Regions from separate parts of the Homo sapiens genome. Here region 2 is linked to region 1. The links are contacts of gene promoters, found by promoter capture Hi-C in human tissues and cell types (Jung and others, 2019). All regions are on one chromosome and are shown on one strand. Each heading gives the region's core, a stretch centred on a gene start or on the middle of the fragment in contact. The rest is flanking DNA. Distances are from core to core; before and after follow the strand shown. Region 1 holds the start of SHC3 (SHC adaptor protein 3). Region 2 overlaps SECISBP2 (SECIS binding protein 2).

Region 1 (4,116 bases), core at 904-3,403:
TAAACTCAACCAAATATGCATATATTATGCTCATCTATACCCCTTTGGTAAAATATAATAATCCATAGTTTGAAGGTTAAATTAAAAAGCAGACTGAAAAGGTGAAGAAGCCCTCTTTTAACAACAATGGCCACATTCATCTGTAAGTACTTTTTATATAGTTAAAGGCAATCCACAAAGTTAAGTATTTCTGTTAATATTTTGGTTCCGAAATTACCAGACACTGCATTTTACCTGAGGATGTGTTCTATTTAATTTTTACACTGGAATCTGCAGCCAATATTTACGGAACAGACATCCTGGGGGTTTCTCAGTGTTATTGAGGACACGGTGGGGATAGAGTTTGTGTCTCATTTCTTTCTCAATACAAAGCCATGCCTTGGAGTGGCAGGATTGAAATACTGCAACTTCCATCCTTAACCCCTGTCTGCTCGGCTGTGGAGGCTGTTAAAGCTCTGAGCTGCCCAACCGGCAGAAGGAAATAACCGCGTGGCAGATTACTTGAACTGTGCTGAGCATTTTTCCTTAAATATCATAACATGCTTGCATAAGGGTGGAATTTTATTGACTACATCGTGATTTTATCATCTTTGTGTTGGAGGAAAAAACTCCTTTCCAGCCTGTGGCTCCAAGCGCAGCGCCCTAGTTCCCTTTTAGCACATTTAAATGGAAGACTACAGTCACCAGAAAAATAGTCCCAGAATTCTCATTCCGCTGCTGTAAACCAGAACCTTTCCTTAGGGAATGAAAGACAAACCCCAAGAAAACCTGGACTGGGTGAGAAAGTAAAGCCCGTCGAAGAGAAAGCAGCACAGCATTTGGCCTGCTCTGCAAGGAGCTGGGAATTCTTGCTGCGGGGGGCAACAAGATACCCACCCTCCCGCCGGGGAAGACACAGCAGGAGTAGGGCCGCCACTCCGTGCATCTCTCCTCCCGGGGGCTGCCCAGCTCTCCCCAGCGCGTTTCCTAGATACTAGGCAGGCCGGACCCCCGCTGCCCAGGGTTGGGCGCCCATGACACTGGTCAGACATCTGGTAAGCCAGGTGGCAAAGGCGTGCCAAAAAAGTGGAGCCTAGGGAAAACCGGGACGGAGCGGGCCACCCGAGTGGTAAACCTTTTCCCAATGGATGCGGGAAAAGCGCATTTGTAGTTCCCTCCTCACCGCTGTCAAGCGAGCTGATTGCTAAGGAGTGCGCATTTGCTTGCCTCTAACGTGACAGTCGCGGGAGCGCCCCGCACCCCGGGCTTCAGGGAATGAAGGAGTCTGCCCCGAACTGGCCCCAGAACCCCCAGCCCCCAGGGCGGCCCGCGCCCGCACCCACCTTGACCACGTAGGTGACTCCGGGCCCCAGCACCTGGTCGCTGGCGTGCGGCGCCCCCCGAGGGGGCCTGGGCAGCGGCTCGTCGCCGGGCCGGCCCTTCCTGGCGGCGCTCATGGCCGGGGCGCGGGGCGCCGAGGGCGCACTGCCGTCCGGGGCGGCCAGGCTGGGCGCGCTGCAGCTGCCCGAGAGCCGCGCGCCCGCCCGCTCCCGGGCGGCCGACGACAGGCCGCGGAGGCCCGAGCTGGAGAGTTTCAGGTGGGACACCTTGTGGAGCAGGTGGCCCAGGCTGCCGGGCCCATCGTCGGGCGCCTTGCGCAGCGCCTCGCCGGACACCAAGTAGGGAGCCGCCGCCGGGGTCGCGCGCGCCGCCGAAACCTTGCCTCCGCCGCCGCTCACCGACAGGCTGTGGAGAAGGTCATCGACCGATGTCACCGAGTCATTCCTGAAGCGGTTATACTTGGTGCGTGGAAGCATGCCCCTCCGTGGGCTCGCTGCATCCGCCCGGGCGCTGCTGGTGCCGGCCCCGGCGCGGGCTGCCGCGCATAGCAGGCGAGCCACTGTCCCCGGAGCGGGACGGAGAGTGGGGGCCCCGGGACAGCCTTCTGGAGAACGAGAGCAGAGCAAGAGGATGGTGCCCTCCCACCGTTAAAAGCCAGCACAGCGGCGGCCGCGCAGCCCCGGCCCGGGAGACCGCTGCTTGGGGTTGCACGTTTGCTTTGCAAAAGTCATAGTTGCCTCTGATGGAGCGCCCAGCTGCTTGGGGCTGCTCACAGCAAAAGCATGACTCACTCTGAGAGGAGACCCTTCTCAACAAAGGCTCGGTGAGCACTGCAAATCACTTCCTGTAGCAGAAGAAAAAAAAGGAAAAAAAGAAGAAAAAAACGACATCCACCCGCTGACAGCACACTATAGCCAATCAATTCTCAAATTTCCTTTTTCTACCTTCCCAGATATTTCCTTCCAACCTTTGATTTTTCACCTTCCCATCCCCCGCAATCTGCATTTGTGCCAAAGGTAAATCCAATCCAGTTCCTTCAAATCGTCAAATGAACTTTCTGAAACCCATTATTCTGTTAGGTTTTGCTCGTCCCTGCTCAGCCCATCTGTGTGAGCCTGTAAAAGTGTCTAACAGCGATGCGTTAAAATGTGACGAAGGCTTTTTAAGAATCAGATCTTCAGCGAATCCTGATGAATCTTGACTTGGAAGGCAGCAGGAATTTTTAAATAGAAAAAAACAAAAAGGATATTCACCCCCAGGTGACTGTAAAATACCAATTTCCTGGGTTTTGCTTTTTCTTTTCAAATTAACAGAGCAGCGATGACAAGTGTCTTTGTGGCAATGCAGTTCCTCAAAAAAAAAAAAAAAAAAAAATCTGCATATGAACTTCTGCACAGTGCCAATCAAGGGGTCTTCCCTGCTCATTTACAGCAGTCTTTCTCAGCCAGGGTTAAGTTGAATATCCACTTCCAAAAAAGAAGAGTGCTTCTTTCACGAGTGGCAACAGGCTCCAGAAATCCATTCCAAAAAAGGGGCTGCATTTGAAGCTTTAATCCTACTGAATGTGTTTAAGCTCTGGAAAAACGCCTAAGAAATGCTACAAATACATTTCAATGTTCCTTCAGTTGCTGCTTGCAACCCTGCAGTCAGGAAGGAAAAAATGCAGCTGTTCTTATTGCACATCAAATCCACAAGGAGGAAAATATGCCTTCTTTTCAGGAGTCAGGCTCGGGCTTGCAAGTAAAATGCACAGGCCTTCTTCCTCTCAGTTAGGAGAGCAAGGCTTTCGCTGTCCCCAGAGGTCTGCCCGAGACTGAAGCCCTCTGACTCTTGACCTCAGTGGGCTCTGCCAGGCTTCCTCATGCATTAGGATCACCTGCTCCACAGTGAAACACTCACTATCAAAGTTTTCCCGCAACTTCTGAGCAAGCGAATAAATTCAGCTCTAGCACACTCTCAGGTCACCCTGAGTCCTCTCACTCCCATGACCGAACATGTGGGGCACGTGAGGTCCTGAGTCTTGAACCCTGCTCTATGGAGCAGAGTTTAATGAGCGCCACTCATGGCGGGCGAGCGGGTGAGGCCAACCCCTAGGACGCAAGAGCGCAGAGGAGCCGCGGCGTCCCCGGTACAGGAAACGCGTCCCCACGGCTCGCCTCCTGTGCCGCAGCCCTAGCAGAACAGCTACACGGCACTCATTTGTTCCCTTTCCCTAGCTTGCATAGCAACAGCAATTGCACACCCCATAGATGATTTTGATGGTTATCAGAGTCCTCCCCAGATCTGTAGCGAAACAGCCCTATCATTCCCAAAGCGAGATCTTCATTAGATGCAGACAAAAACCGCAAAATGTGAATGAAATGCTGTTTGTGTGAATGAAAAGGCTAGCGAGCGAGCCAGCGTTTCTGTGAATGAAGCAGGGCCTTGCAGCCGGTGCCAGGCAATCCCCTGGGCTCCAGCGGCCTCAGCCAATGAGCGGCCGCCCCGATGACTCATTCAACAAAGGCTTGCTCAATAGTGGAAGATTCCATTTCAATCAAAGGCGGGATCTTTTATCCAACGGCAGTGTGGGAAAAAAAAAAAGAAAAAGAAAAAAAAACACCCAGCCGGATTACAAAGATACCGGGAGGAAGAGGCCAGCTGCTATGGAGAGGAAAAGCTAGTTTTACAAGGGAATTCAAGATCCCTTGGTCAGGTCTAAGTGTGAAGAGGGTCTCTCTTGGAGGTGAGCTGTGCCCCTAAACTTTCATTCAGCCGTTCATTTACATCAAGGAGCAACCATGAATGTGCCAGTCG
Region 2 (4,116 bases), core at 601-3,100, 150 kb after region 1:
CTTCCCAGGGATGGGATTATTATTTGGTACCTGTTGCATTGTGGGATCTTAAGTGCCTATAATTTGTATTATTTGGTATATACATTTTTCTCTTTTCATTGACTTCACTCATAAACCATCTGGTACAAGGGACGTTTATTAACTGTAGTAACTGTGGTCTTATAATTAAATGAGTGGCTTCATGTAGCTGCAGCCTACCTTATCCATTGCATTTCAGGAGAAAGATGGGGAAGAGGTTATGCGTTTTATGCTACCTGCTTCCCTCTAGTTTATTCCAGCAAACTGAAAGATGGAAAGTTTACTAGCACAGAAAATTCATTAGAGTCCCTTTAAATTTGCAATACAATAAAATGTCTAAAAAGAATAATTAAAATGCCCAGCTGCACAATCAGGTTAAGGTAACTATTTCATCAGCCTTAGAATTATAGTCATGCCTCACTTACTGATGGGGACACATTCTGAGAAATGTGCCCTTAGGTGATTTCGTCATTGTGGGAACATTTAGAGTGTACTTACACAGACCTAGATGGTATAGCCAACCACCTAGCTAGGCTATATGATATAGCCTGTTGTTCCTAGGTTATAAACCTTTAGACCATATTATTGTACTGAATATTGTAGGCAGTTGTAACATAGTGGTAAGTATTTGTGTATCAAAATATAGAAAAGGTACAGCGGTGGCTCACGCCTGTAATCCCAGCACTTTGGGAGTCCGAGACGGGCGGATCACGAGGTCAGGAGATCAAGATCATCCTGGCTAACACGGTGAAACCCCGTCTCAACTGAAAATACAAAATATTAGCCTGGCGTGGTGGCGGGCACCTGTAGTTCCAGCTACTCGGGAGGCTGAGGCAGGAGAATGGCATGAACCCGGGAGGCGGAGCTTGCAGTGAGCCGAGATCAAGCGTCCCTGCACTCCAGCCTGGGAGACAGAGCGAGACTCCGTCTCCAAAAAAAAAAAAAAGATATAAAATGTTTTACCCGTATAGGGCACTTACCATGAATGGAGCTGGCAGAACTGGAAGTTGCTCTGGGTGATTCGATGACTGAGTGGTGGGTGAATGTGAAGGCCTAGGGTGTTACTGTACACTGTTGGAGACGTTCTAAACATTGTACACTTAGGCTACATGAAATTTATAAAAGTATTTTTTTCAATAATTAACCTTAGCTTACTGTAACTTTTTTACTTTATACATTTTTAATTTTTCTAACTTTCTGACTCTTGTAATAACACTTACCTTTTGTAATAAAACACAAACATGCAGAAAAACCAAAAATACTTGGCTTGGACAAAAATATTTTCTTTCTTTACATCCTTACTCTATAAGCTTTTTTCTATTAATTTTTTTTTAACTTTCTACACTTTTTAATTAAAAACGAAGACACAACCACACACATTAGCCTAGGCCTGTACAGGGTCAGAATCATCTGTATCACTGTCTTCCACCTCCACATATTGTCCCACTGGAAGGTCTTCAGGGACAGTAACATGCGTGGAGCTGTCATCTCCTGTGATAACAATGCCTTATTCTGGAATCCCTCCTGAGGGACCTGCCTGAAGCTGCTTTATACTTAAGTTTTTCTTTTGTCGTTTTGTGTTTTTTTTTTTTTTTTGAGACAGAGTCTCACTGTGTTACACAGGCTGGAGTGCAGTGGCACTATTTTGGCTCACTGCAACCTCTGCCTCCCAAGTTCAAGCAATTCTTGTGCCTCAGCCTCCCAAGTAGCTAGGGGGCATGCGCCCCCACACCCAGCTAATTTTTGTATTTTCAATAGAGTTGGGGTTTTACCATGTTGGCCAGGCTGGTCTGGAACTCGTGGCTGCATCTGCCTGCCTCAGCCTCCCGAAGTGCTGGGATTAAGGCGTGAGCCACCTTGCCCTGGCCAAATTTTTCTTTTGTAAGTAGTGGGAGTATATACTCCAAAGATAAAAAGTATAATACATAAACAAGTGACATAGTTGTTTATTGTCATTACCGAGTATTATGTACAGTACATCATCGCATGTACTATACTTTTATATGCCTGTTAGCTCAGTAGGTTTGTTTACACTGGCATCACCACAAACGTGAGTAATCGCACCATGACATTACCAGTAGACAATAGGAATTTTTCAGCTTCATTACAATCTTATGGGGCTGTTGTATACGTAATCCATTGCTGATCAGACCATCATATGTGGCGCGTGACTATACATACTCCTAAATGTACAGTGCATTTTGGTTTTTCTGCATGATGGTCCAACCAGAGTGATTGATACTTATGGTCATTTAAACTTTATACTTTTACAAAGGAAGGTGAACAACACCGGTAAGAGTTACGGTGTTTTGACAACAACCTGTTGCATCAATAGCAATAGTCTTTGTACTCTGCAATTTTTGCTTGCATACTGGTCATCAAACAGTAACTAAATTTTTACTCTTACTTTTAATTTTGTAATTACAGATGGTTACCATAAGCGAACAGACAGGAAATCCAGAATCATTGCAAAAAATGTATCTACCTCCAAACCTGAGTTTGAATTTACCACACTGGACTTTCCTGAACTGCAAGGTGCAGAGAACAATATGTCAGAGATACAGAAGCAACCCAAGTGGGGACCTGTCCACTCTGTCTCTACCGACATTTCTCTTCTAAGAGAAGTAGTAAAACCAGCTGCAGTGTTATCAAAGGTGAGGTGAGGGTTTCTCTCTTTTTCTTTTTCCTTTGTACACTTTAAATTGTCTCATTTCAAACATTACACATTAAATCTTGCTGTGGGCTTTGATGTCCATGGAGCTGGGGAGGATGTATTGGGGGAAGCCTTTCATTGTGCACTTATATGACCTTCTTTGTTTGAACAGTTTATAATGAGGCTGTAACATCTAGTGCAGCTATTGTTTTATTTGTGCGTTTTGTTTTGTTTTGTTTTGTTTTTGAAACGGAGTCTCGCTCTGTCACCAGGCTGCAGTGCAGTGGCACGATCTCAGCTCACTGCAACCTCCGCCTCCCGGGTTCAAGCAATTCTCCTGCCTCAGCCTCTCGAGTAGCTGGGACTACGGGCGCACACTGCCACGCTGGCTAATTTTTTTTTTGTATTTTAGTAGAGACGGGATTTCACCATGTTGCCCAGGCTGGTCTTGAATTCCTGAGCTAAGGCAATCCGCCTGCCTGGGCCTCCCAAAGTGCTAGGATTACAGGCGTGAGCCACCCACGCCACTGTGCCCGGCTGTAGCTATTGTTTTAAAAGAATCACCTAGTATACCTTTTTTTTTGTGGGGAGGGAGTCTCACTGTGTTGCCCAGGCTGAAGTGCAGTGGCACGATCTTGGCTTCTTGGCTCACTACAATCCCCGCCTTCCGGGTTCAAGCAGTTCTCCTGCCTCAGCCTCCGGAGTAGCTGGGACTACAGGTACATGCCACCATATCTGGCTAATTTTTTTGTATTTTTAGTAGAGATGGGGTTTCACCATATTGGTCTGGCTGGTCTCCAACTCCTGACTTCAGGTGATCCACCTGCCTTGGCCTCCCAAAGTGCTGGGATTACAGGCTTGAGCCACCGTGCCCAATCTAGTATACTCCTTTTTATATGGTAGCTGAAAGGTATTGTGGTGCCTCAGAAGGAAAAGGTTGTAACAGAGTCAAGCCGCTTTGACAGCCCATTTTCAACACGCTACTTCTAACATGCTGATAGCACTTTTTCCAATATAGAAAAAAAAGACTTTTATAAAAATTGAAATACATTAAGTCCTCACATAATGTTGTCAATAGGTTCTTGGAAACTGCAACTTTAAATGAAAGGCTGTATAGTAGGTCCTCCAGTAACATTTTCTTCACCATCATTTCATTATGATGTTGATGAAAAAAGGAATTGGTTTTGTTTTATGTTGTTTTGTTTAAAGTCACAGTTTCCAAGAACCTGTCCATGGTACTGAGGACTTAACTGTAGTAATATTTAAAACTGCATAGTGTAACTTTTGAATTTTCCAGGCTTTTATTACATCTTTGTCTTGTTAATGATGCAGCAAATTCAGGAAAACTTATTACAGCAGGTTAATTCACTTTGTTCAACATTTGATCTCAGAGTTTTAGTCCACCAAGTTGAGGCATTTCTCTCAAATGGATTGATTTGAGACTT

Evidence for each region. Contacts are between HindIII fragments. The study calls those that stand out against the background at their distance.
Region 2: a fragment that was not itself captured here is called in contact with the fragment with the promoter of SHC3 in region 1 in 1 of the 25 tissues and cell types used here (aorta).

The regions. Positions count from the first base shown.
Region 1 is chr9:89,176,665-89,180,780 of GRCh38, forward strand. SHC3 (SHC adaptor protein 3) reads right to left here and starts at 2,154. Exons shown (of 12, transcript NM_016848.6): 1 at 1,323-2,154. The coding sequence starts at 1,796. The HindIII fragment of the contact is 9,677 bases long and covers 1-4,116 here.
Region 2 is chr9:89,326,215-89,330,330 of GRCh38, forward strand. SECISBP2 (SECIS binding protein 2) reads left to right here. Exons shown (of 17, transcript NM_024077.5): 5 at 2,446-2,672. Among named protein-coding and RNA genes, the nearest start is that of SECISBP2, 9.8 kb to the left of the region's middle. The HindIII fragment of the contact is 3,215 bases long and covers 244-3,458 here.